Regions from separate parts of the Homo sapiens genome. Here all the other regions are linked to region 2. Evidence: promoter capture Hi-C in human tissues and cell types (Jung and others, 2019). All regions are on one chromosome and are shown on one strand. Each heading gives the region's core, a stretch centred on a gene start or on the middle of the fragment in contact. The rest is flanking DNA. Distances are from core to core; before and after follow the strand shown.

Evidence for each region. The method cuts DNA at HindIII sites, captures the fragments that hold promoters and counts their contacts. A contact is called where the count stands out against the background at its distance.
Region 1: a fragment that was not itself captured here is called in contact with the fragment with the promoter of PSMC6 in region 2 in 1 of the 25 tissues and cell types used here (aorta).
Region 3: a contact is called between a fragment that was not itself captured here and the fragment with the promoter of PSMC6 in region 2, in 1 of the 25 tissues and cell types used here (dorsolateral prefrontal cortex).

Annotation. Positions count from the first base shown.
Region 1 is chr14:51,646,116-51,648,815 of GRCh38, forward strand. It overlaps a transcript of FRMD6 not described here. Among named protein-coding and RNA genes, the nearest start is that of FRMD6-AS1, 4.3 kb to the right of the region's middle. The HindIII fragment of the contact is 6,050 bases long and covers 1-2,700 here.
Region 2 is chr14:52,705,817-52,708,516 of GRCh38, forward strand. It overlaps PSMC6 (proteasome 26S subunit, ATPase 6), which reads left to right and starts at 1,384. Exons shown (of 14, transcript NM_002806.5): 1 at 1,384-1,488; 2 at 2,493-2,572; 3 at 2,667-2,700. The coding sequence starts at 1,404. RefSeq lists enhancers at 935-1,044, 1,065-1,124, 1,425-1,674, 1,695-1,744. The HindIII fragment of the contact is 7,628 bases long and covers 1-2,700 here.
Region 3 is chr14:54,345,065-54,347,764 of GRCh38, forward strand. No RefSeq gene overlaps it. Among named protein-coding and RNA genes, the nearest start is that of CDKN3, 51 kb to the right of the region's middle. The HindIII fragment of the contact is 4,115 bases long and covers 1-2,700 here.

The sequences.
Region 1 (2,700 bases), core at 71-2,570, 1.1 Mb before region 2:
ACACAATCCTGGCTAACACAGCGAAACCCCGTCTCTACTAAAAATACAGAAAATTTGCTGGGGGTGGTGGCACGCGCCTGTAGTCTCGGCTACTCGGGAGGCTGAGGCAGGAGAAACGCTTGAACCCAGGAGGCAGAGGTTGCAATGAGCCGAGATCGCGCCACTGCACTCCAGCCTGGGCGACACAGCGAGACTCCATATCCAAAAAAAAAAAAAAAAAAAAAAAACCCACTGAAGAGAACCTCAGTGGCCCAAGACCTCCATAATGTTATCACTAGTGTTTCAAAGGAATCCTCTGAGAATATTATCTCAGATAATCAGAGCGTGCCTGAGACATAAGTCAAAGAGTAACCAGTCTGTCACCAGATAGATTGCTGCTTCCTTTCTTCTTGCGTATCCTAATGGGAGTGGAGGGAATTGCCTCCCAACTCTGGGGTAAGCTTTTTTTTCCCCCAGGTTTTCAGTGAGTGATCAAAGAATCAGAGCTGCAAAACTACTCTGGAACCTTTAAGACCCATTGTATATCACACAAACAGAATACATGAGTTAAGTTTCATACTGTAGGGAATCCACCCTTTGTCCTGCCCTTCTGCTTGACATTTTTCTGTACTAGAGCTCTTCTATCTTCAGTCTTCTGTATAAGGTAAAGTCTCATGCATAAGGCAGCAATCCCATGTTTATACATAATTCCTCAACTATATTTTAGTTAGTAGCAGTATCCCTTAACCTAGCACTGCCTTGCCGCTATGCCTTTCAACTCCAAGACGCCAGTGTAATTCTCTACGATGGGCCCTCTCTCTACATTGTGCAACACCTTCCCAAGAGCAAGGGGCAGGGTCTGGCCCTTCCAGCCTTATCAAACCTTTCTTATTACATCTGGAGTATTCTAGTATTCAAGCCCTCAAGGAATGGGAATTGTGATGTTTGTGGTGAAATTAAAGCCATAATAGAATGGAAACAAAGTAGTTCTTTAAATACATCCCCTGTAAACCATATTAAAATGAAACTTTGACCCTGGATAATCAAGTTATTCTACTTTTACATATTTTTTTTTCAAAATTTGATGATCAGGAGAATAGAATTTAATGAATTTAATTTTTTCAACTCTGTATTTCTATAAATTGGGTAAAAGTAAATCTTCTTGAGTTAGATTGCTACATAAGCCCCGTGCTATGCTGCCTCTGAAAAATAATTATGCGTATTCCTGGTTAGGGGCTCCCGGTGTATGGTAATTAGACAGCTGGGTTAAATGAATGATAATCAATTTTCCTGACTTTTCTTAAGCATTAAAGTCTCTTTGGGTACTTTATTTTACTAGCTGAGAATAATAAAAAGAGCATTTTAAATGTTAGGCAGTGAAAATCAGGACCATAACACTAAACTATTTAAGTTTCCATGTGAGATTATTTTCTTTCATTAGCTACAGGGACATCTAAAACCTTAAAGTAGGACTTAATTAAATTTATTTTGTTTGTTTAAAGTACTTTTTGTTTTGCTTTTAAAATGAATCTCAGTAATTACCAAAAAGAAAAATGAACTTAATTTCTTTATTATGACCTTCAGCCAGAATGATGAACGGTATTTAATTCTGGAAAAGTATTCTTTAAAAGCCAGTATGTTAAATCACTGACTTCTCTCTTAGACTAGAACTTACATATCAGCATTAAAACATACTCTGAATGCTGGATAGCCCTGATTTATTATTATTATTAATTAATTAATTTATTGAGATGGAGTTTTGCTCTTGTTGCCTAGGCTGGAGTGCAATGGCGCGATCTTAGTTCACTGCAACCTCCGCCTCCCAGGTTCAAGCGATTTTCCTGCCTCAGCCTCCTGAGTAGCTGGGATTACCGGCATGTGCCACCATGCCTGGCTAACTTTGTATTTTTAGTAGAGATGGGGTTTCTCCATGTTGGTCAGGCTGGTCTCGAACTCCTGACCTCAGGTGATTTGCCCACCTCCGTCTCCCAAAGTGCTGGGATTACAGGCATGAGCCACCGCGCCCAGCCAATAAGCCTGAATTATACAAAAGATAAAAATAATTTTTTTTCTTCTAATATGCTAATCTTAATTGTCAACATACTATCCTGGTGTCTAGAAAATACCTGTAAAGGAATGTGAATTACAGCAGTTCTTATCTCATTTTCTATATTACTGTGTTCTTTACACCAAAATGTACAAATACCACCTACCAAAGTTTACACCTCTCAAAATAAGGCTATGGCCATCATGCTTTAAAAGCATGGCTCTGTGTGCTTGTTCACTCTGTGTCCTCTGCCATATGCCTACACTTAAAATAACCTGGGGATATTTAAAACATTCCAAAGCCCAAGCCATACCACAGACCAATTAAATTATATGCCTGAGACACAGGCATCAATAGTTTTTGAAAGTTTCTAGGTAATTCCAACGTGCTTGCAAGTTTGAGAGCACTGTCTCAACCAACTTGTTCTCAGGCAAACTTCTGTTTATCCTTCCCTTCTCAGTTCACAGGGGATGTTTGATGCTCTCCCTCCCTAGGCCTTCTCACTATTCTTCCTGCGTATCTCTACCATAGCATGAACTAACTATGTTGTAACTGTTAACTCACGTGTCTGTTCCCCTAATCTACTATAAGATTAAGGAGTATTTTTATTTTTGAATCTCTGAATCTAACCCTTTGCCTGGTGCATGGGAGAACCCAATAAATTCATAGAATGA
Region 2 (2,700 bases), core at 134-2,633:
TGAGGTCAGTAGTTGGAGACCAGCCTGGCCAACATGGTGAAACCCCATTCCTACTGAAAATACAAAAATGAGCCGGGCGTGGTGGCGGGCGCCTGTAATCCCAGCTTCTCAGGAGGGTGAGGCACGACAATCGCTTGAACCCGGGAGGCAGAGGTTGCAGTGAGCCAAGATCGCACCACTACACTGCAGCCTGGGTGACAGAGTGAGACACAGACTCAAAAAAAAAAAAAAAAAAAAAAAAATCTGGCCGGGCGCAGTGCCTCACACCTGTAATCCTAGCACTTTGGGAGGCTGAGGAGGGTGGATCACCTGAAGTCAGCAGTTCGAGACCAGCATGGCCAACATGGCGAAACCCCGTCTCTACTAAAAATACAAAAATTAGCCGGTTGTGGTGGCGCACACCTGTAATGCCAGCTACTCCGGAGGCTGAGGAAGGAGAATTGCTTGAACCCGGGAGGTGGAGGTTGCAGTGAGCTGAGATCGCGTCACCGCTCCAGCCTGTGCGGCAGGAGCAAGACTCCATCTCAAAAGTAAATAAATAAATACATAAATCTGAAGGTTCTATCAGACTTCAAAGTTCCTGCCTCAGCCTACTTCAGCATCTTTATCTTGTACCCCACATCTCTACAACCCACCCCCTACTGGTCTCATTGGCCTCCTTTCTGTTCCTGGAAGTGAGTCAAGCTTTCTACCCACAACCCCCACCCCACTCCACTCCAGGACTTGCACTGTTTGTTTAGGTTTTCTTCAGTTGTTGCAAGGCTGGCTCCTTCTCATCTCAGATATCTGTTCTAGATTAATTCTTCCCACCATACTTCTCACCGTGTTTTAATTCCTTCACAGTATTTGTTAAACTCTGAAGTTTTTTTTATTATTATTTCCTATCAAATGATAAGCAGATCTACCTTTAATACCTCATTCACTGACTGAATGGATGAATAAAACTGTCTACTTCTCCAGCACGTGGAGGTCTTGGACAGTACTGTGTTATAACAAAGGCCATCTGTGTTGTGTCGACAGGCCATCGGAACTCCTTTGAGGTATTACACATTTCCTACTTCACTTCCATCTCAGTTTATTACAGAGCCTTTTATACTTCCGGGACAGCAGTGACTTAATACTGAGGCCTCTCAGGGGAAGACCGGGATAACTGAGTCCTGCTTTACCTATCTCGGCTTGCAAGAAACGGTATAGGTGGAGGCCTCTTTCAGTGTATGCCGGCGCTCTAGGTGAACCGAGACATAGAGGTGGAAGTGGAGTAGAAAGACGGGGCCAACCGGAAGGGGAGGGCTCATGGGCGAACCCACCCCTCCAGGCAGGGTTTCGCCCCTCGCCCCGCCCCTTCCCCCGCCCGGACGGCCATGGCCATTCCCGGCATCCCCTATGAGAGACGGCTTCTCATCATGGCGGACCCTAGAGATAAGGCGCTTCAGGACTACCGCAAGAAGTTGCTTGAACACAAGGAGATCGACGGCCGTCTTAAGGAGTGTGAGTGCACCTTTCTTTCCATTTAATCAAGTGCCTCGACTCGCTTCTGCCTCTGACAAAGCAGAAGCCTTTCGCCGAGCCCGGCAACCGAGCCTTAGAGATGACCAGGCCTAGGGCCAGGGACAAGGCGCTTTGTCATCCGGCCCTGAGCTTGTGGAGCAGCACTCCTTCGGGTGTAGAAATGGCCCAGTCCAGCCCGGGTGACAGAACATCGGCGGCCTTGAGGTGAAAATGAAAAAGAAGTAGAGGAGGAGTGGGGAAGTGGGCCGAGGATGTTTCCCAGGTTAGGGTGCAAGAAGGGCAGTCTTGGTGGAGTCCCGGGACTTGGAGAGGGGAAGGCGCTTGAGTCAAGTAAGCTCAAACAAGAGATGAGACTCAGGGAGTCGGCTTGTTCTTGGAGTCGAAAGACGGCCGCGGAGCTTAAGAGAGAAGTGTTCCAGTTGTCATAATAACCCATATCGTCTTGTGTTTCGTGTTGTACTGTATCAGGCATACAAATTTCCCTTACCTCCTGAGTGCTTAACTTTTTTTTCCAGTGCATTTTCATTGAAAAGCATGAGTAGTTTAATTAAATGGAGGACCATAATTACATGATTCTGTGGAGAACTGCATTTGTTGACTTTATTTAGGGTAGAATGTCAGAGAACAATCCACGTGGGTAGGTGAAGAGGTGAGGAAGGGTCTAAGTGATTATCATTCGGATTTGTAGTCGCAAATCCTAAGTGTCAGGGTGTCAATATCTTCTAAGACTATAACTTAAGATGTGCTTAAACAAGTATTGCCGATCAACAAAGTAAAAGTATGGTGCTTTCTCTGTAACATTTTGTTGTTATACATGCCACCTACTCATTACAAACAGCATTATTTCTTTTATGGTTTGAAACAGTGGATGTGAAACTTAGGTAAAGTGAAGTAGACTTACGTAAACAGTAAAGTGAGACGTAGCGACTTAAACACACTAAGATTACTGTTCAATTAAAAATGTTCAAATTGTATTATTTCAGTAAGGGAACAATTAAAAGAACTTACCAAGCAGTATGAAAAGTCTGAAAATGATCTGAAGGCCCTACAGAGTGTTGGGCAGGTAGGTGATGGAGTTTGGGGAATAGGGGGTGATGGTAATTTGCTTTTTTATTTAGCTGTTGCCAAAAAGTAATGCTTTTTATTTTCTTCCTTAGATCGTGGGTGAAGTGCTTAAACAGTTAACTGAAG
Region 3 (2,700 bases), core at 18-2,517, 1.6 Mb after region 2:
TTATCACTATCTGGTCTACAACATACTACTTTACTTCTTTATTTTCTTTAGATGTCTGTCTCTTCTCACTCCCAGAATGTAAATTTCTTGAGGACAGAGATTTTTGTCTGTTCACTGCTGTATCCCCACTACTTAGAAGAGCCCTGGCATGTAATAAACAGTCAGCAGGTATTTGTTGAATGGATGAATACAATCCAGAGACGGCTCAAGCTAGCACCAAGTGGGCCTTCTGTGGGTGAATAATCACTTACTCCCTGAGATCCACCCAGTGAGAAAGTGCAAAGACCATCTGCTCTTCTACCCACCAACCCAAAGGTGGGTCTCTGACAAGTGCTTGGTCTCCGGGCAAACTCAAGATGGCTGAGACACATCTTTCTCCACCAGAACCACCCTTGGAGAGCCGACTGGTCATCCCTTACAGTAGATGAGATCCAGACTCCCCTCACCTTGTAGGAGGTAGAATGCCCTCCCAACAACACTGCCCTCCTTGCCTTCCAGCCTAGATCCTAGGTGAACTGGACCTGAGCACTGAGTACCTCACCTTGATGGTTATATCAACTTGGCTGGGCCACAGAGCCCAGATATGTGGTCAAACATTATTCTGGATGTTTCTGTGAAAGTGGTTTTGGATGAGATTTACATTAAATGAGTGGACTTTGAGTAAAGCAGAATGCCCTCCATAATATGGGTGGGCCTCATTCAATCAGCTGAAGGCCTAAATGGAACAAAAGACTGACCTTTCCTGAGCAAGTATAAATCCTGCAGCAGACAGCCTTCAGACTTGAACCACAGCACTGGCTCTTCCCAGGTTATCTAGCCTACTGGTCCACCCTGTAAATTTGGGACTTCCAGCTTCTGTAATCACATAAGCCAATTCTTCAAAAATCAATCTCTTTAAATATATATACACATATATATACACACATATATATACATATATATGAATATATATACATATATACACATATATACATATATACACACACATATACATATATACACATATATACATATATACACATATATATACATATATATACACATATATATATATACATATATATACACATATATATATAAAACATATCATGTATTAGTTATATTTCTCCAGAGAACTCTGACTAATACACATGGCTAAGCTGTTGAGATGTAGTTCTCCTGGGAGTCAACCCTCCTGCAGGAAACCAAGTTCTTCCAAGGGCCATCTGCTCTGGAAGCATGAGCTTCCATCTCATGCCTCTTCCTTTCATCCATGCGCAAAGACTTATACAGCCCCCTGGCATTCCCAGGACACCTTGCTGGTCACTTCCCAAACTAAAGGGCAGAAAAGAATCCCATATAACAAAAACTGTTGCTCAGCTGCTATACTAGGAACTCAAGGAAACATTTCTTTGTCTATGATGTCATCGTAAACAATCTTACCAGGAGCAATAATATTCATATGCCGCATGCAAACATCACACCGTCACTTCGTGCTAACACTTGACTGAAGTCTGAGAGGCTGAAGAAAGAGCAGAATAGTTAAGAGCATGAGCCCTGGAGGTCTAACTGCTGGGACTCCAGTCTCCACTCTGCCACAAACTAGCTGAGTAAAATGTGCCAATTCCCTTAACCTCAATTCTCTCATCTTTAAAATGGGATGCAATAATTATACCTATTTCACAGGACTGTAATAAAACCAAGTGGAAAAAATACAAGTGAAGCACATATCCCTGTGCCTGACATACGGCCCATGCTCTGTAAAGGTTACTGGTATTTATTGCTGCAGCAAGAAGCCCAGGCCTTAAAGAGTCTTCTACAAATGCACGCAGTACTCTGAAGAAGGTGATTAAATCAGTTATGACTCTGTGGGTTGCAAGTGAAAAGCAGAAAATCCTTCAAAAGATATAGAGCCCTCAAGAACTCTTGGAGGGCATGCTACCACAGACGAGTCTCTTCCACAGTAGCCCCAGAAGTGGTTGCACCACCACATAGATTGGATCCTATGGTGAAAGGCTGGGCTCACTTTAAGGCTGGGCAGACTGAATTGTGAAGAAACTCTGCGACTTATTCATAGATTGTGAGAATAAATGGTAAACAAGTAAATGAGCAAATACATCCATGCCAGGAAGGAAACAAACAGGGTGCTTTAACATTTAAAAAGAAGTGGGTGTGTCATACCCAGCACAGGCAATTCCATACAGACAAGACGGTAGATGAGTGGATGCCAGAGGCTGGGAGGAATGCGAGGTGGGCCGTGACTTCTTCATGGTATGAGGTTTCTTTTGGGGACAATGGAAATGTTCTGAAGTTAGATAGTGGTGATGGCCGTATAATATTGTGAATATACCGAAAACCATTGAATCGTACACTTTTAAATGGTGAATGTGGTGTTTTGTGAAATCTTATGTGAATTATATCACAATTAAATTTTTAATTAAAAAAGAAAAGCTGGCTGGGGCCGGGCCTATTTTAGATGAGGTAGTCAAAAAAGTTCCCTCCAAGGGGTTTCTATGACCAGAGGACTGAGAAATGGGAAGGAGCCAGCCTTTGGAAGATGCACGGAAGAGCTCACTGTGCAGATGGAAGAGCAAATGCAGATGCCACAGAGTGTGCCCCGCTTGGCAAGGTCCATGTGCTGTCCCAGATTCGGCCCCTGGGAAGGAAGAGAGAAAGAGAGCTTGAAGTGTAGGAAGAAGCTATATCCTAGAAGGCCTTGGT